7 separate regions of the Homo sapiens genome follow, and regions 1, 2, 3, 5, 6 and 7 are each linked to region 4. The links are contacts of gene promoters, found by promoter capture Hi-C in blood cells and fetal thymus (Javierre and others, 2016). All regions are on one chromosome and are shown on one strand. Each heading gives the region's core, a stretch centred on a gene start or on the middle of the fragment in contact. The rest is flanking DNA. Distances are from core to core; before and after follow the strand shown. Region 1 overlaps CLTC (clathrin heavy chain). Region 2 overlaps APPBP2 (amyloid beta precursor protein binding protein 2). Region 3 holds the start of APPBP2 (amyloid beta precursor protein binding protein 2). Region 4 holds the start of HEATR6 (HEAT repeat containing 6). Region 5 overlaps CHCT1 (CHD1 helical C-terminal domain containing 1). Region 6 overlaps VMP1 (vacuole membrane protein 1). Region 7 overlaps CLTC (clathrin heavy chain).

Region 1 (3,276 bases), core at 768-3,267, 460 kb after region 4:
ACAACTAAGCATGTAGTAAATCCCAGTACTTAGCATTGCTTTCTATTCACAATCCGAACTAACTATAGCAAGAACCCCTAACATTTGACTCAACAACACATTCCATGCCTGCATCTATGGATCAAAGGGGAAAGAACAGGGTAGGGAGATTTTTAATTGAAGACCCAAAGAATCTAGGAATACAATGGAATGTGTCAAGTGGCCTAAAGATACTTAATGTGCCAGAAAATTGAAAATCACCAAAAAATTAAGAATCACAGGCAATATTTTATATATGTAGCCTAGGATTTTTATAGAATCTTCAATTCCAACAGTATCTTGCTCAAATAGGCACTCATTTATTAACTGCTATCAGTCTAAACAGTCTAGGAAAAGAGAAATCTTCATATATTCACATTCATTTGCTGTAGGTCCAAGCTTTGATGACAAGAGATCCTTCAGTTGGACAATGTAGTTAAAGGGTATAAAAATAAGTTCATTTACAGTTTCACAAGGTAACTCTACACTCACACTTAAGTTCCCCATTTCTTGTTTCCAGTTTTTATCCTACGTGTTTCAGAAAGTTTTCTGCTACTTAGCAAACTGGTAGAAGCTCAGAGGTCAAAGACCAAAGATGCCAATTAAAATAATCCTTATTAGTTGGGCTCGGTGGTTCACACCTATTATCCCAGCACTTTGGGAGGTCAAGGCAAAGGATTGCTTGAGCCCAGGCATTCGAGACTAGCCTGGGCAACATGAAACTCCATCTCTACAAAAAATACAAAAATTAGCCAGGTGTGGTGGCTCATGGCTGTAGTCCCAGCTACTCAGGATGCTGAGGTGGGAGGATGGCTTGAGCCCAGTAGGTCAAGGCTGCAGTGAGCTGTGATGGTGCCACTGACCTCCAGCAAAAACCCTGTCTCCTCAAAAAAACAAAATGCTTATTAATTTTTAAAAAGGGAGGAGATAATGATATGAAGTTAGGAGATATATTATCATGAAAGAGGCTGTAGTTATTTGGGCTCCACAATTAATCAACTGGAGCACAGTCATATTAGCTAAGCAAGCTTAAGTTTAGGCATGACATAGCAATCCAAAACACAGAGGACTGAATTTTTCAATTTGCAAATCGCTTTATATTCAAAATCTTCAAATTATTTGAGAAGAAAATGGCTTCATTCAAGCATCTGCAGAAACTTTGATCCAGTTACAAAACAGACATGTATTAAATTTGTCTTTAATAAGTGACAAGGTTGGGTTCGAATCTTTGGGATCATTTAACAATTCTTGTCTCCTCTTTAAAAGAAATGAAAAGCTATTACTCCAACCACCACAAGATTTAGTAGTGAGCTACACATCTGCCGTGGAAAATAAAGAGCAGCTGTACTTGATTCTCTGTGTGGTTTATAAACATTTGTCTGCAGAAAGATATTTCAGATGCAGTTTAATATGAAAATAAGCCCGCGTTTTCCCCTCACACTTAAGAACAGCACCCCTCAACTCTCCACATTCATTTGCCACCCCACTTTAACAAAAGCAACCACAGCAACTAAACTTGGATTGATCAAAAAAAAATGTCCATTTTGTTATTTAACATTTTTAACCCTCTGTAAAAGTGTTTTTATTGCCAAGGTATATTCCATTACTTCAGATGAGTTATTTGAAAATTATAGATGACTGAGGAAAGTGCATTATTTAACTCATTTTATGGGTAAAAATTTATTATTCTTTACATTTCAAGCCTTAAAGGAAAATAAGTCCTTGCTAGTGCAAACATGGTAATACTTGCAAAGAAATATGAAATTATGTTACTTATAGCCTGAATGTTAAAACCTTTTATTAACAAGAATCCTTTATGTATGCTATGCCAATGGGGAAATGTAAATAAAAATGGTCTTCAATGGTAAAGTGTCTAATAGGTCACTGATATCAGTGTCATGTCAAACCACTGCATTCCCTGTCATTATGGAATTAGCCCTTCAGACGACTGAGCTGAGGCAGGTTTCTTTAAGGGGATATTTGGGAAGAAAGCAAATTAATAGGAATAAATTATTTAAGCTACAGTAAAAAACAGGATTGGTGACACAGGAAAATCAAAAGCTCTGAAGAGGTTTAATTCAGTGAAGCCTTCCAATGGTCACCTGCCTAGGCCCGCCACTGGCATGTTGCCAGATAACAATATGTTGCCTCCAGGATAAGGAACCATGGGGAAGAACTCTAGAACTTACTAAAGGGAAGCCAGTCACAGACCAAATAGCCCTGCAGGTCTCAGAGCAGCTGTGCTGTCCCCAGGGCTCTGTTCAATTCCATGCGATCCTGAAGAAGATATTCAAAACTACCTGCTACTACTCGAGAAGACTAAAAGATAACCTCTGTATCACTCTTTCCTACCTTCCAGAACCAAAGAGGGGTTAAGAGCCACAACATCCCCAGAGAAATAAAAAAAGGGGGAAGGGGAGGCGAGTTTCCTTAGGGAGTTTGACCGCACACACTCTGAGATTGACATAGCTCTAAGAAATGCGTTCTCCCATTCTACCCTCGTTCCGTTCTTTCAGTGACCTTCTGTCCCTACTGCCTCAGGGAAGGCAAGAGAAAAGCCACCGCCTCACCACCACCCCCAACCCCCACCACCGGAGAAGGTGCCTTTCTCAGTTGAGAGCCGCAGAGGGAGGGAAAAAAAAGGTTGCTCCTCCCCAACCCACCCGCCCCACAACTCCTGGGTGCAGACACGATGAGGGAAAGAGGAGAGCAATGGAAGGTGACAGCCCCGCACTGGCCCAGGGGATAAGAATCCTTGCTCTGGTAGAAACAAGGGAGAATCCCCCTCCCACTCCCCTACCCAAATGAATGAAATGAATAAAATGGGGAGAGAGTTTGTACGCGCAGTTCTGGCCATCCAGGAAGCAAGATCGAGAGGCCTTTGGATCCAGGCCTGGTCCTTGCAGCTCTTTGCACCCCAACTCCTGTCCTTTCCATCCAAGCCCCACATCATTTAATATTTTAAGCTTTCCAAGATAGTGCCCCCTCCTCCACCTACCCCAATCACCGACAACCCCCCCGCCCCTCCAGCTCCGATACTGCTCGGGCCCAGACTCCAGCGTCTTCCATCCTTCCTACCACCTTCTCCACAGCCCTCACCAGCCCGGGCCCGGCCGCACCTGGAGATGCTCCTGAAAACGAATTGGCAGAATCTGGGCCATGGCGCTGTCGGGGGTTATGGTCTCCTCCTGTCACTGGGGCTGCGGGGCAGTGGCTGCCCGGGCTCTCCAAGGGAGAGGAGGAGAAGGGGAGGGGGGA
Region 2 (3,418 bases), core at 758-3,257, 390 kb before region 4:
TGTCATTTTTTTAGATGCAGTACATGCTGAGTACATAAAATATATAAAATATTTAGAGAAGGAATCAACAATTGATGAGATGAATTATGGGACGCTTTCAGGAAAGAGCATGTACTTCTTTATGGGCATGAGGTCAACTCCAATTTGGGCCACACACTTATTTTCAATGCTGCCTTGTAATTGTATTTAATTACCTTAAGTCATTCAGGTGATTGGTAAGAGGTCATCAGGTCTACCAAGCTGAAAATATCAAAAATAGAGCAATGTTATTGGTGTTTTATAGGTTGCTTCATGTGCGAAATGGAAACTGCAAATATCATTTGGGTGAAGAAACATTTAAATTAGCTCAGACATATATGGATAAACTATCAAAACATGGCCAGCAAGCAAATAAAGCTGCACTCTATGGAGAACTGTGTGCACTCCTATTTGCAAAAAGTCACTATGATGAGGTAAGTGTTTTAAGGTACATTTCACTGTGACCAATAAGTACCTATAAAAACAGAGGGTAAATCAAATAGTCTTCTCTTATTTTTCTTACAGATCTCTTTTACATATTAGGTTTATATAAGGCAGTACACATTTGTAATGGAAAATTTAAAATCAGACAAGCCGAGCACTGTGGCTCATGCCTGTAATCCCAGAACTTTAGGAGGCCAAGGTAGAGGATCACTTGAGCCCAGGAGTTTGGGGCCAGCATGGGCAACAAAGTGAGAGAGACCCTGCCTCTATAGAAAATTAGCCGCATGTGTAGCACACGCCTGTGGTGGTCACAACTACATGGGAGGCTGAGGCAGGAGGATCCCTTGAGCCCAGTAAGTTGAGGGTGTAGTGAGCCATATTTATACCACTGTACTCCAGCCTGAGTGACAGAGTGAGACCCTGTCTCAAAAAAATAAAAAATCAGGCAAAAGGAGTGTTTGTGAGGTGAATTTGAAATATATACATGTGTAATTTAGAGCCCTTTCTTTTGTTGTTTTTCTTTTAATTTAACCAAATATTTGCCTAAATTGTTTGGTTGGGCCTCGTGTTGTAGTTTTTGAGACAGGATCTTGCTTTGTCACCCACGCTGGACTCAAACTCCTGGGCTCAGGTGATCCTCTACCTTGGCCTCCTGAAGTGCTGGGATTACAGGCATGAGCCACCATGCCCAGCCTGACAGTTATTTTCCTTCTACATTTGGATTTAGGGGTTTATACTGTGCCTTATTCATGTCTTTGCAGCTCTCAGCACATTCGTGAGGAATGTTGAAGTCTTGGATAATTTTGACAGTTCAATCTTCTAGTGATAAATAAGCTTTTCACTGATATCTACAGAAAAGTACACAAATCTTACAGACATGGTTTGATGAATTAGCATCATGTTTTTGTGTTAGGATAGGCTAGGTTATGCAGAGGTAATATCAACCCCAGAATAGCTTGGAACAATAAAAGTTTCTTTCTGGCTCATAATATATCCCTGTCTTCAGATGGCTATGGCTGTTCTTAACATTATACCTACGCTTTGATCAAGACACAGCGTGGTTTTGGGTCTATCTGGAACGTATCTATCTAGAACATTACCAGCCTGGGCACAGGGGCAGAAACTTCATGGAGAAGTACTGCCGGCTCTTGGACTTTTCTTCCAGAAGTGGCACATTTCACTTCTCATATTTTAATTGTGGAAAGAAATCACATGGCCACACTTGTCTTTGTTTGTTTGTTTGTCTGTTTGTTTGAGACAGCGTCTCACTCCATCACCAAGGTCTGGAGTGCAGTGGCATGATCACGGCTCACTGCAGCCTCCACCTCAGCTCTACCAAGTAGCTGGAACTACAGGTGCACATCACCACGCCCAGCTAATTTTTTTGATTTTTGATAGAGACAAAGTCTCACTATGTTATAACCCAGGCTGGTTTCAAACTTCTGAGCTTGGCGATCCTCCCATCTCAGCCTCCCAAAGTGCTGGGATTACAGGTATGCACCACTACACCCAGCCTAAGACAATTTATTTTGCCTTTTTTATTTCTTCCACTAAGCACCAGGAGAGGAAGGACATTTTTGGTTTTGTTTCCCACTTCATACCTAGATACTAGCACATTACCTGCCACTTAACCTCTCTACACCTGTTTCCCCTAATAGTACGTATCTTATAGGGCTGTTTTGTCAGGTAAATGTGTTAATGCACATAAAATACTTTGGACAGTAGCTGGGACAAAGTAAACACTCAACTAAACAGACAATTCAGACATAAAATAACAAATGTTACAATAGGAGGATGGAATGTATAGGAAAACACAGGAAACCCCACAAGACAGATGAGTTTAAGGGGTTGGAGGAAGGGGGAATGTATTTTAAGGCAGAGGGAACAGTATGTGCAAAGGCTTCTGGGCAAGAGAGAACATACCTCTGATTTCCAGAAGATATGTCATGTATCCACAACGTCTGATTCAGATAAGCTATAGATATTAAGAGTAAAAATAATATAACAGATTTATACTTTGAAGAAAGTTTAGCCTCAGAAAATTCTAACTGTAAATATTTTGTGTGTGTTCTTATTTAAGTGCTTGTAGAAAAATTTTGCAGTCATCTTGTTAAATATTGTCAACTTGATTTAACCACAGTTCTGTCTCTTCTATAAATAATTTTTTTAGGCATACAAATGGTGCATCGAGGCAATGAAAGAAATTACAGCAGGCTTACCAGTGAAAGTTGTGGTGGATGTCTTAAGACAAGCTTCTAAGGTAAATATAATGTTAAAATTATTAAATGAATTATAGGATTTATCAGGCTTTAAGTTTGTTTTAATTAACCTGTTATTTAACATTTTAGTTATTTGTACACTCCGTAGGCATAGGTCTGTTTTATAAGTTTCTGTGCTCATTTTTAGAAATCTGGTTTCTAACTAAAACTATATCACACATAGATTTTTAGCCAATTTTTCTTTACCAAGAAAACCAGTGAAATAATTCATTTTGATCATTGTTTCAGTGCACTAAAGTACAGCTCAAAGTAGTATTTGGGTGCTATTCTGGCTTGAGTTTGTTTTTGTTTTTCTTAAATATTTATAGCAACCAGAATTCCTTATGCCAAAATCCTGTGAACTTTGGTCACTTTTCTGCTAAAGATAGCCTGGTGTTAAATCTCTTTGTCATAGTATTGCAGTCTCACAGCAAGGCAGCTTGCTATACTTGACCTGCTAGGCAGTCCTTACTTGATTTTTCTCTAGTGTTTTCTTATTCTGTAAATAAATGCATTAAATCTTTTACATTTTTATTTTATTTTAAATAGAGACAGGGTCTCACTATGTTGCCCTGGCCGGTCTCAAACACCTGGACTCAAGCGATCCTCCCACCTGAGCCTCCAAAAGTTCTAGGCAAGCCTCCAAAAGTTCTAGGATTACAGGTCCACCACGGTTGGCCTGCGTTAACTCTTTGAGG
Region 3 (3,164 bases), core at 336-2,835, 450 kb before region 4:
AATTATTCTTTTATGTGGGGCAGGGATCCTGATCTTCAAAAGCGCCAGTGTCTAAGAAGTGATGAAGGATTTGCTGAATGAACTGATACACTTGAGTGGCTCCGAAGGCATGAGCAAAACTATTGCACAGAACATACTTACATTTCAAAACCATTTGTTGTTTATCTGACATTAAGATGTGACTGGGCACTTGTAATTTTTTTTTTCTTTTTTTTGAGACGGAGTCTCGCTCTGTTGCCCAGGCTGGAGTGCAGTGGCGCGATCCTGGCTCACTGCAAGCTCCGCCTCCCGGGTTCACGCCATTCTCCTGCCTCAGCCTCCCGAGTAGCTGGGACTACAGGCGCCCGCCACCACGGGCTAATTTTTTGTATTTTTAGTAAAGACGGGGTTTCACCGTGTTAGCCAGGATGGTCTCGATCTCCTGACCTCGTGATCCACCCGCCTCGGCCTCCCAAGTGCTGAGATTACAGGTGTGAGCCACCGCGCCCAGCCTTGTAGTTTTTTACTTGCTAAACTGGCAATCTGATCTTGAGGCCATCCACAGCTTTCCTAGGTTCACAGTATAGAGTAAGAATTTATATAGACTGAAGAAGATTAAGAGTGTTTATTTTTTGTGGAATTATTTAACCACTTAACACTGAAGTACCAGGTGAAGGGTAAATTGAAATAACTCTTTCCACTTCTTTTAGCTCTAAATATCAATCAGGACATTATTATTATGGCTGTTTTCTGGACTTACATCGTTATAGAGTGACTATGAGTTTGATAGTGTCACCAACAATTATGGCCAATAATTTCCATGGTAAATTCCTAGAACAGAAAGATGTTGCATCAAATTCTTGAAATCGCAGACTTAGGAAATTAAGTTACATAAACAGCAGATGTTCAGGCTGAGGAAGGAAAGAAGCTGAAACAAGTACTCCCAATTATTCAACAATCCCTTGAAGCCGCCACTGTAACTCTGGGAATTGAAATACCATTAAGTCCTATCACGGCCACCACTTAGCCTTTTTTCTCTTACTATTATTTGTAATTCCATAATCAAGCTAGTTTTCCTACGAAGTTCTGGGGCAGGAGTTTTCTTTTTTCGGAAATTTCATTTGGATAAAGAAACATGGTCAAAAAGTTACAACGGTGCAAATGGTTATACAAAGAAAAACAAGTCTCTCTTCTATCGTTACCCCTAGTTCCTGGACCGCGGGTTCTTAACTTGGGTTAGGAACTGCAGTCTAAGGGTTTCTAGAGTAATGTGAATTTTCTCAATGCATAATTTTCAATGTACAGATAATTTTGCTCGTTTGTGGGGAGAGGATCCAAACTTTTACCTGAGCCTCAAAAGGGTCCGTGATGCAGAGAACCTGCTGAAGTAACCGATGGCCCCGAGTGACTCGGAACAGGGGGCGCAGATATCCTGTAATAATTTGTCCCCGTGTGAAAAGTCTACCCCTATCCACTCCACTCCACTCCACTCCGGGGCCGCTTGGAAGGGACGCTCTCCGTGGGAGGCATCCAGCTCTTCCTAAGTTTTCCGCCTGCCGCATTCCTCCCCTCCGGCGCGCCGGCGTGCGCTTACGTCATGACGCCGCACACGCAGCCCCGCCCCTGCAGAGATCAGCGCTGGGACGGAACCCGGGTTCCTCTCGAACCGGGATTGTGACGCTTTTGGCCTGGCTGGCCGCTGTTTTCTGTCCCACTTTTTACTCGGGCCTGCGTCCGCTGCCGCCGTCCCTCAGTTTGCCCCCGGAGGAGGCAGGGCGGCCGTGCCTTCTGCCGTGCGCCCGCGTGGCTGCCACCGCCCCTCCGAATCCTCCGGGGCCGCAGAGGGGTTCGCTACGGAGGGAGGTGGGGGCCTTCGGGAGGAGGAGGCGGAGGAGGCGGAGGAGGAGGGAAGGAAGATGGCGGCCGTGGAACTAGAGTGGATCCCAGAGACTCTCTATAACACCGCCATCTCCGCTGTCGTGGACAACTACATCCGCTCCCGCCGAGACATCCGCTCCTTGCCCGAGAACATCCAGTTTGATGTTTACTACAAGGTATGCGCCGTGGGCCTCCTCTCTGCTCTCCTCCAGCAACCCCGGGGGCCGCACCCCCTTCCACGTCTGCGAACCCCCGCAGTTAACCCCTCACCCCTTCCGGCAGACTTGCCTCCCGAAACGTCTGGTGCGGTGTCTGCATTGCCAGTGGAGAAGCACCCCATCTCCCTATGCCCTGTCTCTTAAGCTTTGGGGCCTTGAAGTAATCTTGGGGAGTCTTGCTCCCTGTTGGTGTTCCCTTCTACACAGTGGCCCTCTTGGGTAGGCCTTTTGCGTGGACTTACTCTATCGCGCCCCTGTCCCACCTAGTCCTTTCCTTCTAGCCCGTATCTTCAGGATATTTTCCATCCTCTCCTTCCAATTAAGTGTCAGCATCAGCTGGACTTTTTTCCGTGCTCCTCCCCCCACCCATTCCTACTTTCTCATCTCGCCGCCTTCCTTCCCCGAGTGTTTTGGTGTTTTTGCTTCGTGTTCCTTCGTTTCTCCTTTCTTTTCCCAATTGGGAAGGAGTTAGGGATTATTGGAAATAATCTGTGTGTTTTATTTGCATATTCTTTAAAGCTTTGATTTTTTTGTGGGAGAGGAGGGGCTCTATACTTGAATTAGGGATTTTGTGAAAATGGGAGTGCTGATCAACTGTTTGAAGAGGACAGGGAGAGATCTTTACTGAAAGAAAAAAACACTTTAGATTATGTTCCTGTGTTTGAAAGTTGCAATCTTGCAGCATTCTTAAATCACTCCCCCTCAAAAATCTGAACAGCAAGTCTCCCAAGCCACTCTCCAAGGAGTTTCAAGGGTAAGTGTCCTTAGATGTGGACTATTTTTGCAGTGTTTTCAGAGTGTGGAGAACTTTATGGACTCAGAGCCTGCCCTTTTCTCTCCCCCACATTTGAATGTGAACACTGGATTTATTATTCAGTCTTCCTTGTCTTGAATCCGCGTCGATAACTCCTAGTGTCCAGTAGCCACCCATGCAAAATGTGACTAAAAGTAGAATGTAATTTATTTTTTAGACCTTAAATACTTCCTCTTGATCTGTAAGTTGGCTGGAACAGTGTAAACTGATATTTTAACAGATGTTTATGTTCTTACGTATGTACAGTGTTTTGTGGCAGTTGTTTTATTGGGAAG
Region 4 (3,278 bases), core at 587-3,086:
CAACATAGGACTCCTCCAGGAACCAAGCACAGATGCATGCTCAACACAGGAACACCAGTGAATTAATGCCTTGTGGTCAACTTTTGACAATAGACTTCAAAAGCTGACAGATAAATGCTTTTCCTCTCTGTTCCTCAGAAGAAGGGTTTTGAGAGCTTCACAAGGCTTCTCAGAAACTCCTGAGGACTGAACAATCAGTCACCCCTTGCAATGGCCAACTCAATAGCACATATTGGTATTAATTCTCCTTCCTTCCCTGTTCATTTCTGGATAAATCCCTCACCTATCAACCTCATCTGAGGCTCTGCTATCAGGGAACCCAGATTAAAATATCCAACGACTAGGTTTCAGCTCCTGATCTTCTCTGAACAAATGCTTGAATACATTTCTTTACACGAATACACACACACACATGCACATATATAACGCACATATGTACACAGACTAGGAATAAGAAATAATATACCAGCACAACGGAATCTAAATCCAAACAAAAAAATTAACATTTCTCCCCAAGCCCAAAGTCTTCAGAAAACTACCTCTGCTAAAGCATACCCCCAATTTTCACTGCTGAACAGAAATGTTTTGTTCTCAGGATAAAACATACATTCAGGTGACTTCAAGGTTTTCCCTAAGGGCCAAGGGTGAGGATTTGCTTTATATTTGCATAACTCAAAGGCCCTAGAGATGGTTTTCCCAATCTGCCCAACTGTGAAAGTCAAGCCTTCACTTCCTGGATGACTGAAAAGTGATCACAGATTTTTAAATGGCCATTTTATTCTCCAGCTTCTTGACTTCAAGGTTTCAGAAAATCTTGGGGTGTCTCATTTCAACCCGGTCACTCTTAGGCAGATTATATTTTACATGATTCAGTTAAACTCCAAAATTACTCTTCTAGTGGGGCGAGGTGCCTCATGATCCATGAGAGGATTCACACTGGGAAAAAGGGAGAAAAAGGAACCAAGAGTACAGCCAGCTGTCACTTAAGTAGGGAAAGCTGCCTTATATTCCACTGACCAGATTGCAATCACAGAGCCACAGCCAACTGCAAGGAATGCTAGGGAACGTAGCCTTTATTCCGGGTGGTTTTGTGCCTGGGGAAAGATTTTAGAAGAGTAGAAGGGTGCCTTAGAACTAGCGGTTTCTGCTACTGCCATCCACAGCATACCCTCTCCAACTCCAGCCCGAATCTGAAACTCTAGTACGGAACAGAGTACCTTCAGCCCTGTCCAGGAACAAACTCTGGGAGGACAAACTTTCTGGAAGCACAAATTGAGAACTCACTTTTCAGTCAGGGCTCAAGAAGGAGTGGCCGGCGAAAAATCTCCAAGCCAATTTCTTTCTTTTTTTTTTTTTCTGAGACGGAGTCTCGCTCTGTCGCCCAGGCTGGAGTGCAGTGGCGCGATCTTGGCTCATTGCAAGCCCTGCCTCCCGGGTTCACGCCATTCTCCTGCCTCAGCCTCCCGAGTAGCTGGGACAACAGGCGCCCGCCACCACTCCCGGCTAATTTTTTTTTTTTTTTTTTTTTTGTATTTTTAGTAGAGACGGGGTTTCACCGTGTTAGCTAGGATGGTCTCGATCTTCTGACCTCGTGATCCGCCCGCCTCGGCCTCCCAAAGTGCTGGGATTACAGGCGTCAGCCACCGAGCCCGGCCTCCAAGCCAATTTCTGACAAGCATCTGCAGGGTACCGGTCGGAGGAGTCCCGTAGTCATGGAAACCCCTCTGAGCCCCAGTCCGGTCTAAAAAAGGTACTTTCGGAACTAGAGCGCGCGGAACGGGAGGATGTCCCGGAAGTATTTCCCTGGGATCACCCCACCCACCCCCCCCGCCCGTAGAAAAGATGGCTGCTGTGCAAGTTGTCGGTTCGTGGCCTTCCGTGCAGCCGCGGGAGGCACCGCGGGAAGCAATCCCTGAGCGAGGCAATGGGTTTCGCCTCTTGTCTGCCAGGCTCTGCGCCCTGCGCCCGGATGACAGCAGCTCCGCCCGCACCGAGATCCACCTGCTCTTCGATCAGCTCATCTCCGAGAACTACAGCGAGGGCAGTGGCGTGGCCCCGGAGGTAGGCGGCGCGCCCTGCTGGCCCCGGCCCCGGCCCCACCCCTCCGGGAACCCAGCTGGTGGCCTCTGCCTGCCTTTCCCTGATCTTCCCACTCTCGCGCCTGATGATTTAGTTTCAGGATGGCGTGCCCCCTCCAACCTTGGCACATTCTTAGTTCTCCATTTGGAAGACCCTGCAGTGCTTGGCACGCTCGAGTCATTCAAAACCCAACTTGACGACTCCTGCTCTGATAATGCCTCGGGTTTCCTCTCTGATACCAACTTTCCATCCGCCCGCACCCTCCTTCACTCCCTCTCTGTGCACCCAGAACACTTGGTTGACAAAATGCATTACTACTGTTTATTGCGTACATGGTACACGGACCACGTGGGAATCTTAGAACTTGCGTAGTATTAGGGCTTGTTTGCTAATGAAAATACTGAAGCTCGTAAAAATACAGTATACAAAACTCTGCCACAAAGCCCCTATGTTTTCTGTTCCTACACACTAGCTCCTCCCCTCTGCCGTCTTTCTGAGTAATCTTACACACATCAGGCCTTAAATTAATGAATTCTCTGAACTGTTGACACCATGGCCTTCTGGCCCTACGTAGGAAAGAGGGAAGTGGTGCAAGTTGCCTGCTTGCACAGGCATCTCAAACTAGACAGTTCCTAAAGATGAAATTCATTAGCTCCAAACACGCATTCCCGTCCCCAGTCCATCCCACCTTCCAACACACATGCATCATCCACCAAGTCACACCAGACACAAACACTGGTTCTTCCCTCCTTCATCCCAGATCCTGACCAACTCAGGTATTTCAGAATGTGTCTCATATATATTTCTCAGTTCATCCCCTCCTGTCTATTCCCATAGCGAGTGCCTTAGACCTCAGGCAAGGCGACTTATGCCTGGACTGTTCGCTGATCCCCTCTGACTGATCTCCTGCCTCCTGTCTAGCTCCTCTCCAAGCCAGTCATTCCTCCAATGCCAGAATGATCTTTTCTTTAGGAGGAAAAAAAATTGTTCATAAACTTTAAAATCTGCTTTGGAAAAGTCTTCAATACGTATTGGTAAATGGTTGAAGCAAGTTGCAGGACAATTCATACAGAATGAGATCAGTATGAAGCTGGAGGAGGGATTTTAAAATATGTGTGTTTATATATGCAAAGTAAAAGGTCTGAAAGAATTGACTACAGAATAATAGTGTATGTCATTAGGAAGCAGAGTGAGATTAA
Region 5 (3,209 bases), core at 242-2,741, 350 kb before region 4:
GTGACTGGAAGGGCCTGAGGATTACAGTGAAACTGACCATTCAGAACAGACAGGCCCAGATTGAGGTGGTGCCTTCTGCCTCTGCCCTGATCATCAAAGCCCTCAAGGAACCACCAGAGACAGAAAGAAACAGAAAAACATTAAACACAGTGGGAATATCACTTTTGATGAGATCGTCAACCTTGCTCGACAGATGGAGCACCGATCCTTAGCCAGAGAACTCTCTGGAACCATTAAAGAGATCCTGGGGACTGCCCAGTCTCTGTGGGTTGTAATGTTGATGGCCGCCACCCTCATGACATCATAGATGACATCAACAGTGGTGCTGTGGAATGCCCAGCTAGTTAAGCACAAAGGAAAATATTTCAATAAAGGATCATTTGACAACTAGTGAAAAAAAAAGAAAAAGAAAAAGAAAAACTCATTTTCTGGGGAGAAATTCAAGCTGGCAGCAGAAATTGGCATAAGTAAGGAGGAGCCAAATGCTAATCCCCAAGACAATGGGGAAAATGTCTCCAGGGCATGTCAGAGACCTTCTTGGAAGCCCCTCCCATCACAGGCCCAGAGGTCTAGAAGGGAAAAAATGTTTTCCTGGGCCAGGTCCAGGGCTCACCTGCTGTGTGCAGGCTCAGGATTTGGTGCCCTGCATCCCAGCTGCTCCAGCATGGCTAGAAGGGTACAGCTTGGGCCATAGATTCAGAAGGTGCAAGCCACAAACTTTGGCAGCTTCCACATGGTGTTGAGCCTGTGGATGCACAGAAGTCAAGAATTGAGGTTTGGGAACCTCCACTTAGATTTCAGAGGATGAATGGAAATGCTTGAATGTCCAGGCAGAGGTATGCTGTAGGGGTGGAGCCCTCATGGAGAACCTTTCCTAGGGCAGTATGGAAGGAAAATGTAAGGTAGGAGACTCCACACAGAGTTCCCACTGGGGCACTGCCTGGTGGAGCTGTCAGATGAGGCCCACTGCCCTCCAGACCCCAGAATGGTAGATCCACCAACAGCTCACCATGTGCCTGGAAAAGCTGCAGACACTCAATGCCTGTGAAAGCAGCCAGGAGTGGGGCTGTATCCTGCAAAGCCACAGGGCTGGAGCTGCCCAAGACCATGGGAACCTATCTGTTGCATCAGCATGACCTCAGTGTGAGACATGGAGTCAAAAGAGATCATTTTGGAACTTTAATATTTGACTGCCCTGTTGGATTTTGGACTTGTATGGGACCTGTAGTCTCTTCATTTTGCCCAATTTCTCCCGTTTGGAATGGGTGTATTTACCCAATGCCTGCAACCCCATTGTGTCTAGGAAGTTACTAACTTGGCTTTTGATTTTACAGGTTCATAGGCGGAAGGGACTTGCCTTGTCTCAGATGAGATGTTGGACTTGAACTTTTGGGTTAATGCTGAAATGAATTAAAACTTTGGGGAACTGTTGTGAACGCATGATTGGTTTTAAAATGTGAGGATATGAGATTTGGGAAGGGCCGGGGCGGTATGGTATGGTTTGGCTCTGTGTCCCCACCCAAATCTCACCTCTAATTGTAATAATACCCACATGTTGTGGGAGGGACCAAGTGGGAGGTAACTGAATCATGAGGGTGGGTTTTTTTCCATGCTGTTCTCATAAGTCTCATGAGATCTCATGGTTTTATAAAGGGGAGTTCTCCTGTACACACTCTCTTGCCTGCTGCCATGTAAGATGTGACTTTGCTCCTCATTTGCCTTCTGCCATGACTGTGAGGCCTCCCCAGCCACGTGGAACTGAGTCAATTAAACCTCTTTCCTTTATAAATTACCCAGTCTCAGGTATGTCTTTATTAGCAGTGCGAGAAAAGACTGACACATGGGCTCAAGCGATTCTCCCACCTTAGCCTCCCAAATAGCTGGGACTACAGGTGTGCGTCACTATGAACAGCTAATTTTTTTGTAGAGATGGGGTTTTCCCATATCGCCCTGGCTAGTCTGGAACTCCTGAGCTCAAACAAACCTCCACCTCAGCCTCCCAGAGTGCTGGGATTACAGGCATGAGGCACCATGCCCGGACTTAAAGTGTTTTAAACAACAAGTAGAACATGACCCAGGACAAACAAAACACATCAGTAGCCTTACTTTAGTGTGCAGGCTGTGGATTTGTGACTGATGGCTCGAGCCACCATGTTAGCTAAGACCATCGGTGTTGTTTCCTCTTTGGTCTCCTGCCTCTAGCCTCGCTCACTTCCATGCACTTTGCTCACAGTCACCAGAGCATCTCCCCAATACCGTAGTGACACCCATTCATTCCACTACTTGACACTTCCCTTACCACTGCCCATCCCAAGCTACCCACAAAATGAAGTCCAGACAATGCAGGCGGGCTGCCAGGCTTGCCATTCTCTGACCCCAGGCTCCCTCCCTCCCCACCTGTGTGCTCCACTGGCAAACACCCAGCTCCTTTGTTAACTCCCCGGAGGCCTGCCCCAGTCACCTGTATTTACCCTGCTGTCGTGTCTTTTCTATGTCTGTCTGCTCCACTAGACTGTGATGGTCCTTGACAAAGTGACCACATCTTATTCATCTGTGCATATGTGGGGCACCTGCCACTTAGAAGGTGGCTGGCAAATATCTTTTAAACAAATTTAAAATGTACGAATGATGACTGTTGGTCAAGTAAGGTAGAACTGTCATAAGAATGTTTATTTCCCACCTCATTTATTCCTAATTAAGACCTGAGAATCTTTTTGATAAGGACAATTCTTTTCCCTTTTTGGTCTCCATTCCCCGTGCTCTGAGAGCCAGGACAAGCGGGCCCTTTGTCCCAGTTGGTCTTCTTACGGTTCAGTCTCTGGAGTTTCTGGGGCTTCCTTTATCCTCTTCCTCTTGAGTTTTGGTTTTTGAGAAAGCTCCCTTAAAGAATCTGAAAAAGAGAAGGTCAGAGACAGTCCCAATGACATCACAAATAGTAAGAATCTCAGTCTGTAATACATGGGGGGTGTTGTAGGGGCAGAGAGGAAGAATAGCAAAATCCTATCTTACTTCCCACCTATATCACTTAGTTTTTTCTCACAGAAACCCAGTAGAGAGATGGCATTGTCCCCAATTTACAGATGAGGACTGTCACCCAGGTCCAGGGTAAAGCAATGACCTGCCCAAAGTCTTACAGCAAGTTAGGGGAAGAGTCAGGGCAAGACCCGAGTTTCCTCGACCTCTGGCTCCAACCTCTGATTCTTCCTTAC
Region 6 (3,355 bases), core at 796-3,295, 370 kb after region 4:
ATTGGGTCACGGAGGCTCTGCCCTTATGAATGAATTAATCCATTCATAAATTAATGGGTTAATGGATTAATGGGTTATCATGGGGGTAGGACTGGTTGCTTTATAAGCAGAGAAAAAGAGAACTGAGCTTGCACACTCAGCTCCCCCTCCATGTGATACTCTCGGCACTCTGCAGAGTCCCTCCAGCAAGAAGGCCCTTACCCAATGTGGCCACTCGATCTTGAACTTTTCAGCTTCCACGGCTATAAAAATTAAATTCCTTTTCTTTATAAATTACCCAGTTTCGGGTATTCTGGTATAAGCAACAGAAAACGGACTAAGAAACCTTCTTTTTTTTTTTTTTTTTTTTTCCTTTTAAGACGGAGTCTCGCTCAGTTGCGCAGGTTGGAGTGCAGTGGCACGATCTTGGCTCACTGCAACCTCTGCCTCCCGGGTTCAAGCGATTCTAATGCCTCAGCCTCCCTAGCAGTGGGGATTACAGGTGCCCACCACCACGCCCAGCTAATTTTTGTATTTTTAGTAGAGATGGGGTCTCACCATGTTGGCCAGGCTGATCTTGAACTCTTGACCTCAAGTGATCTGCGCACCTTGGCCTCTCAGTGTTGGGATTACAGGTGTGAACCATTGTGCCCAGCCCTAAGATACCTTCTTAGTCTCCGTTTTGTTAAAAAAAAAAGTCTCTCTTTTTTTTAACAAAAAAAAAAAAAAAAAAAGAGAGATGGGGTTTTGCCATGTTGTCCAGGCTGGTCTCGAACTCCTGGACTCAAGCGATCCACCCACCTCAGCCTCCCAAAGTTCTGGGATTACAGGAGTGAGCCACTGCATCCAGCCCAGATCTTTCTTTTACCTGCCCTTGGCCCTCTCCTCTCCCTATCTCCCCAGGTGACTCATCTGGTCCATGGTTGAAAATACTATCCCGTATTTGTATTTCTGGTTTTGACCTCTAGATTTATATATGTAAGTGCGTGACTTGGATGATTTATTATTATTATTATTATTATACTTTAAGTTCTAGGGTACATGTGCACAATGTGCAGGTTTGTTACATATGTATACATGTGCCATGTTGGTGTGCTGCACCTATTAACTCGTCATTTACATTAGGTATATCTCCTAATGCTATCCCTCCCTCCTTCCCCCAACCCACAACAGGCCCCGGTGTGTGATGTCCCCCCTCCTGTGTCCATAGATGATTCTTTAAGTGTCTCAAAATTAACATGTCCTTTTCTCCCTACACCTACCCACCTTCTTGTAACAAACAAACCTGGTCTTCTCCAAACCTCCCTTCTCCCAGTACCTGGCACAACCACCCACCCAGTCACTAAATCCAGAAGCTTAGTCATCCCTGACACTTCCCTTTTTCTTACCACTCATCTAACCCAGGACCAAGTCCTATACCAAATATATTTGGTATCCACACACAACTGTCCATCTTCTTTGCTACCCTTCTAGTCCAGACCATCTTCATCTTCTTCTTGGACTATGCAGTGGACTCTCAACTTCTCTCTCCATTTCTGTTCTTGCCCGCTTCAATTCATCCTTCACACATGAACAACAATGAACTTCTTATAAATCCTATTACTCCTCTACTTAAAATTGTAGAATGATTTCCTACTGCACTCAAAATCAAATTCAAACTCATTCCCTTGGCCTGCAAAATTCTGCATGACCTGGATCCTGTATATATTTCCTATATCATCTCATGTCAATGTATTCCAAGTCTATTATGCTCCAGCCTCAAATAAGCATATATCCACATTGTTAACTCTCTCTTAGACCCTCATGTGCTGCCTTCCTAACAATTCTTATTTCCCATTGTTTTCCCCAGAACCTGGTGTAAGGCCTGGGACACAAAATGTTTGTTCACTGACTGGATAATGAACAGATAAGGCAATAGATGTCACTGGAAAATGATCTTTCCATTCCAAGAAAGTGCTAAAAGACATCATGAAACATCAAAAGTTTCAATTGCCAAATTCTGTGTTATGGCTTACACAGATAATGTAGTCTGTTAATACCAAAAAGTTAACAGAATGGCCCAAAAGAATGCCTCATTTGGTTAAGAATCTCACATATGTTGTAAAATATAGACAAAGTGAAGTGTATACTCAGATATTTATTTACTGGAACTTCATTAATAATGAGCAAACAATAATTAAGTAAGCAGCAACATAAAGCTATGCTTTTAAAAGAGGGCTGGGAAAGAGTTCTTGGCAATAGCTTAGGGGGCCACATGATGATAATGATCACAATCATGGTTAACTATATGCTACAGACACTGTTCTAAATGCTTTATTTAAACCTATTCATTCAATCCTAACAAGAAGGGTATTGACTTCATTGTCCAGGAGGAAACTGAGATAGCAAGAAGTAAAAAGTAACTAATCCAAGAGTTGCATAGTAATAGAGCTAGAATTTGAAAAAAAGCAGTCTAGCTTTATAGCCCTGGCTTTTAACACTACCTGCCTAGTCCTTCCAGGTAATCTATAAAGAACAAAGTTATCATTAAAAAACTCAAGGACAAGAGAAAATACTCCCATGAACTACTGAAAAGATTAAGTAGTTCAAGAATACAAACAAACTCTTGAGCAATTATAGGTATATTAGCTGTGATATAATTACTCAATAGATTGCCCTTGCTTAATTTAAATATGCCTTAAACTTTAAGTATCACCTTTTATCTGACACAGAAAATTATCTCCTGTTCAAATTTCCTTGATGCTGCAAATCAAGGAGCATATTTTAAAATAAGCTTTATATAAGGGCCTACATAATACCTAACTTCAGTTCAGCAAACTCCATCCAAAGCTGCTTTCCCATATAAAATAAGGAATTTCTTGAGGCAATATGCTCTTAGCAATTTACTATTCCTCAAAATATTTGCAAGGCTTTGTGAAAGCAGAGTAACAATTTACAAAACCACGACAAAGTTATCACTTCAATTTGTCCTGTTTATTAGGATTCTCTAATCTAGAGTTCATTTCCACACCAAAATGGGAGACACAGCAAGGGCACTTGGGCAAAAACAGGAATGACAGTAGCACCTAGAACTATCATCTCCGAGAAAGACTAAAGAGACTAAAAAGTTTGTTAAATCAATGGAACCAAAAAAAAAGAGTACCCAACAATGCAAAGAATTAACTCTTCTACAATGGCTATTTACCCAGAATAAAATAACTAGAGAAATGGCTCTATATATAATAGATAATTAACATAACAAAATATTAAAATTACAAACAGCTTGGGGAGGTTTTTTTTTTTGTAAGAGCAAATAATACAGTTCTCTCCTACTGCTTTTCTTTTATTTTCTTCTCTTTTTTTTTTGAGATGGAGTCTCGCTCTGTTGTCCAGGCTG
Region 7 (3,294 bases), core at 692-3,191, 410 kb after region 4:
GAGTTGAGCAAACTTGATGAAAGAGGTAAACCTATACATTCCTTAGACAACAGATCCCTTTGCCTACAATAGAGGCTCCTCAAAATGGTATGAAGAGCAAGCTGATGTTAATATTCAAAAGCCTAAATGATTCTAAAATGACATTGAAAGTATACAACCACTTTTCTAAATTTTTCCATCCAAAATTAAAATAAAGGAAATTCCTTTGAAATAGTGCTATTTTTTTTTTCTTCTTTTAAACAGATGGTCATTCTTACTCACCAATTTCCTTCCGTATTTCAAAGGAAACCACAGAATATTATGTTTGGAAGAAATAATCCAGCACACAACTTAAGAATGCTAACAACTTCACATTTAGGGAAAAAATATTTTTGAACTATGACCAAACCCTTGTAGAACTGCTAACCTGGAATCCAACCAGAAAACACATTACTCAAAACCACTTACCTTAAGAAAATTCTTGACTCGCTCAGGATCGTAGCAGTTGCTTTCTCTACAGATTCTTTCTACTTCTTTGATTTGCCCAGTCTTGCAAGCTGCCTGAATATATTTAAAGTGCACATCTGGGTCCTGGCTAAAGTTAACAATGGATCCCAGAAAATAAAAGAGACCTTAAAGAAACAAGTAATTACAATTAAGCATAGGCACACTTTTGAGAATGACTGAAAAACATTTATGTAATTAAAAAACTGTTATATTGAATACTCCCAAATATAAGTTGGTTGCTTAAAAAGCGCGATAAAAATACTAACTATTCCATTAATCAGATCAGTAAAATGGATTGCACTTTAATCCTGAAGAATAGACAATTCAACCCAATGTTTCCTTTTTTTCTTTTTTATTGAGGCAGGTCTCTGTCACCCAGGCTGGAGTGCAGTGGCACGATCATAGCTCACTGCAGCCTCAAACTCCTGGGCTCAAGCAATCCTCCCACCTCAACCTCCTAAGTAGCTAGAACTACAGATGCATGCCACCATGCCAGGCTAATTTTTAAGAAAATTTTTGTAGAGATGGTGTCTTGCTATGCTAGCCAGGCTGGTCTTGAATTTGTGGCCCCAAGCACTTGGCCTCCCAAAGCACTGGGATTATTAAAGGCATACACCATTGTGCCCCTATATGGGAAATTTTAAATGAAGACCCCAATACCTGGTGTTTTTCAATATGCAATTTATAGGAAACATACAAAATAATTTGGGAAGAATTTAGTGCAGTATTGTCCAGAAGAACTTTCTGCAATGATGAAAATCTTATCTTTGCCTTCCAATATAATAGCCACTAAACACATGTGGCTATTAAGCACTTGAAATGTGGCTAGAGTGACTGAATAACTAAATATTAAATTTTATTTCACTTTAATAACTTTCAATGTAAATAGCTACTATATGTGGCTAGTGACTGTACTAAACAGTGTAAATTTAGTGCACAGTTAACATTTTGAAACTGGGAAAATTAAGAAAAAATTAAGAAAACTACTAGACTCTCTTACCCCTTCTCAATAGAGTACTACTAGTACAGAGAGGAGAGAAAGGCAGTTGGGGACCAGAAGTTAGACACCCAACAGTGATTACGTTAGTACCCTGTATAGCAGTGGTTCTCAACTGAGGTGATTTTCCTCACAGGTGACACTGGCAATGTCTGAAGACATTTTTGGTTGTCACAACTGGTGGAGCTGACGCTACTGGAATCTAGTGGGTAGAAACCAGGAATGCTGCTGAATATTCTACTAAATATTCTACATGTACAGGAACACCCCTCTACAATGATTATCCAGCCCTAAATGTCTATAGTACTAAGGTTAAGAAATCCTGCTAAATAGCAACAAATCACAAAATGCCCTTAGTGAGAATCACCTGCTATTATAAGAGTCAGACATATAAGCATAAAATTTTATTATACCTGATCATTAGTACAGACTGAGTATCCCTTATCCAAAATACTTGAGACCAGACGTGTTTCAGATTTTGAACTTTGGAATATTCGCATTATAATTACCTGATCAGCATCCCTAATCTGAAAATCCGATTTCTGAAATGCTCCAACAAGCATTTCCTTTGAGCGTTATGTTGGTGCTCAAGAAGTTTTGGACTTTGGTGCATTTTGGATTTTCAGATTAGGGACACTCAACCTGTATTTTCATTTTATACAATTTCAACACCACTACATATTTTTCTCTTAAAATTCTACCTTTAATTCATCTATAAAATATCCAAACAGATGGTCTGGTTCACTGCATATCCTTAGAATCCAACATAAAAGGGCCTTGACATATATTGAATAAAACTTAAAAAATTAAAATGTCCCATAGAACCAAATTTTTAGAAAAACAAAATTTCCAACAGCCTGATCATAAGCATACCTCTTCTTGGCTACCTTAAGTACTTTTTTTAAAAACTCAAAAACTCCTAATTACCTTCAAAACTCTTGAAAGATTCAAAAAGTTCAATCAGAGACTGAGTTGACAGTTGTTCATGATATTTAGAAGCCACCTGAACACAAATCTGCAGATTCTGACGGATGTTGGCAGACAGCATGGCTCTGAGACATTCTAGGGAGTCTTCTACTGATAAGGAACCAAAGTAGTTGACTAACCACTACAAGACAAAATAAATGAATGAATGAATAAATGAAATAATGTTGAACCTCATGGTGGTATGAAATTATTAATATTTAGTACCACAAACACATTTTCAGTGTACCTATTAATCACAACTAACACCATCTATTAGGTAAGAAACTGAAATACCTCAGGGTTAAGAAGATGGGTGTGAACCACTGCACGTTTTATATCATATAAATCAGTGAAATGTTCTAATGCACGCTGCAGTAGGCCAGCCTTTTCACACAGTTGAGCAATATGAGCCCGGTCATAATGTGTGAACATCTGATTGCCTAGAATAGCATCTGCAACCTGTAAAACCACAAACAAGGCAAGTTTATTGTCCACTCCACTTACATGAGTAATTCAATATCCGTATTACAGATTAAGGTTTAATAGTGAACTGTTAAAGTACAAAAGAATATTATAATAGCTACATTTTCTTTAATAAGGAGTAGGCCCCTCAGTAGCTTTGCATAACAATCTGAGAGGCGCTGCACAATTACTAAAACAATGTTGGAAACATGCCTAAAAAGCATTAAAACACATACTTGAGGCGCATGCATAAGGTTCATCTCAAGTAACCGCGTCTGTAAAGGACCTTCAGATGGGCGATTATTCTTCAGAGCATCAAGCAAGAATGCAGTACACTGCTGAATTAGATTGTATTCCATAAAGACATCTACAATCTACAAAAA

Evidence for each region. Contacts are between HindIII fragments. The CHiCAGO score rates a contact against its expected background, and 5 or more counts as called.
Region 1: a fragment that was not itself captured here is called in contact with the fragment with the promoter of HEATR6 in region 4 in 1 of 17 cell types (activated CD4 T cells); the score reaches 5.0 in activated CD4 T cells.
Region 2: a fragment that was not itself captured here is called in contact with the fragment with the promoter of HEATR6 in region 4 in 3 of 17 cell types (naive CD8 T cells, naive CD4 T cells and M0 macrophages); the score reaches 6.2 in naive CD8 T cells.
Region 3: the fragment with the promoter of APPBP2 here is called in contact with the fragment with the promoter of HEATR6 in region 4 in 2 of 17 cell types (naive CD8 T cells and neutrophils); the score reaches 5.5 in naive CD8 T cells.
Region 5: a contact is called between a fragment that was not itself captured here and the fragment with the promoter of HEATR6 in region 4, in 5 of 17 cell types (M0 macrophages, total B cells, neutrophils and 2 more). The highest score is 6.6, in M0 macrophages.
Region 6: a contact is called between a fragment that was not itself captured here and the fragment with the promoter of HEATR6 in region 4, in 2 of 17 cell types (activated CD4 T cells and megakaryocytes). The highest score is 5.1, in activated CD4 T cells.
Region 7: a contact is called between a fragment that was not itself captured here and the fragment with the promoter of HEATR6 in region 4, in 2 of 17 cell types (M0 macrophages and M1 macrophages). The highest score is 6.3, in M0 macrophages.

What each region holds. Positions count from the first base shown.
Region 1 is chr17:59,620,035-59,623,310 of GRCh38, reverse strand. It overlaps CLTC (clathrin heavy chain), which reads right to left. Exons shown (of 32, transcript NM_004859.4): 1 at 3,138-3,276. The coding sequence starts at 3,179. Among named protein-coding and RNA genes, the nearest start is that of CLTC, 1.8 kb to the right of the region's middle. The HindIII fragment of the contact is 1,938 bases long and covers 1,049-2,986 here.
Region 2 is chr17:60,463,325-60,466,742 of GRCh38, reverse strand. It overlaps APPBP2 (amyloid beta precursor protein binding protein 2), which reads left to right. Exons shown (of 13, transcript NM_006380.5): 5 at 284-452; 6 at 2,633-2,722. Among named protein-coding and RNA genes, the nearest start is that of CHCT1, 43 kb to the right of the region's middle. The HindIII fragment of the contact is 1,418 bases long and covers 1,299-2,716 here.
Region 3 is chr17:60,524,663-60,527,826 of GRCh38, reverse strand. It overlaps APPBP2 (amyloid beta precursor protein binding protein 2), which reads left to right and starts at 1,585. Exons shown (of 13, transcript NM_006380.5): 1 at 1,585-2,033. The coding sequence starts at 1,896. RefSeq lists a silencer at 1,756-1,895 and enhancers at 1,976-2,245, 1,966-2,674. The HindIII fragment of the contact is 8,801 bases long and covers 1-2,222 here.
Region 4 is chr17:60,077,479-60,080,756 of GRCh38, reverse strand. HEATR6 (HEAT repeat containing 6) reads left to right here and starts at 1,836. Exons shown (of 20, transcript NM_022070.5): 1 at 1,836-2,061. The coding sequence starts at 1,843. It overlaps HEATR6-DT (HEATR6 divergent transcript), which reads right to left and starts at 1,448. Exons shown (of 2, transcript NR_135648.1): 1 at 1,285-1,448. RefSeq lists a silencer at 2,050-2,179. The HindIII fragment of the contact is 13,067 bases long and covers 1-3,278 here.
Region 5 is chr17:60,430,862-60,434,070 of GRCh38, reverse strand. It overlaps CHCT1 (CHD1 helical C-terminal domain containing 1), which reads right to left. Exons shown (of 6, transcript NM_181707.3): 6 at 2,645-2,890. The coding sequence ends at 2,805. It also overlaps the pseudogene RPL12P38. Among named protein-coding and RNA genes, the nearest start is that of CHCT1, 10 kb to the right of the region's middle. The HindIII fragment of the contact is 7,385 bases long and covers 1-3,209 here.
Region 6 is chr17:59,711,042-59,714,396 of GRCh38, reverse strand. The region is part of intron 1 of VMP1 (vacuole membrane protein 1); the gene reads right to left. Among named protein-coding and RNA genes, the nearest start is that of VMP1, 5.1 kb to the right of the region's middle. The HindIII fragment of the contact is 1,418 bases long and covers 1,337-2,754 here.
Region 7 is chr17:59,666,094-59,669,387 of GRCh38, reverse strand. CLTC (clathrin heavy chain) reads right to left here. Exons shown (of 32, transcript NM_004859.4): 11 at 3,148-3,285; 12 at 2,744-2,908; 13 at 2,411-2,591; 14 at 448-611. Among named protein-coding and RNA genes, the nearest start is that of PTRH2, 40 kb to the left of the region's middle. The HindIII fragment of the contact is 4,362 bases long and covers 1-3,294 here.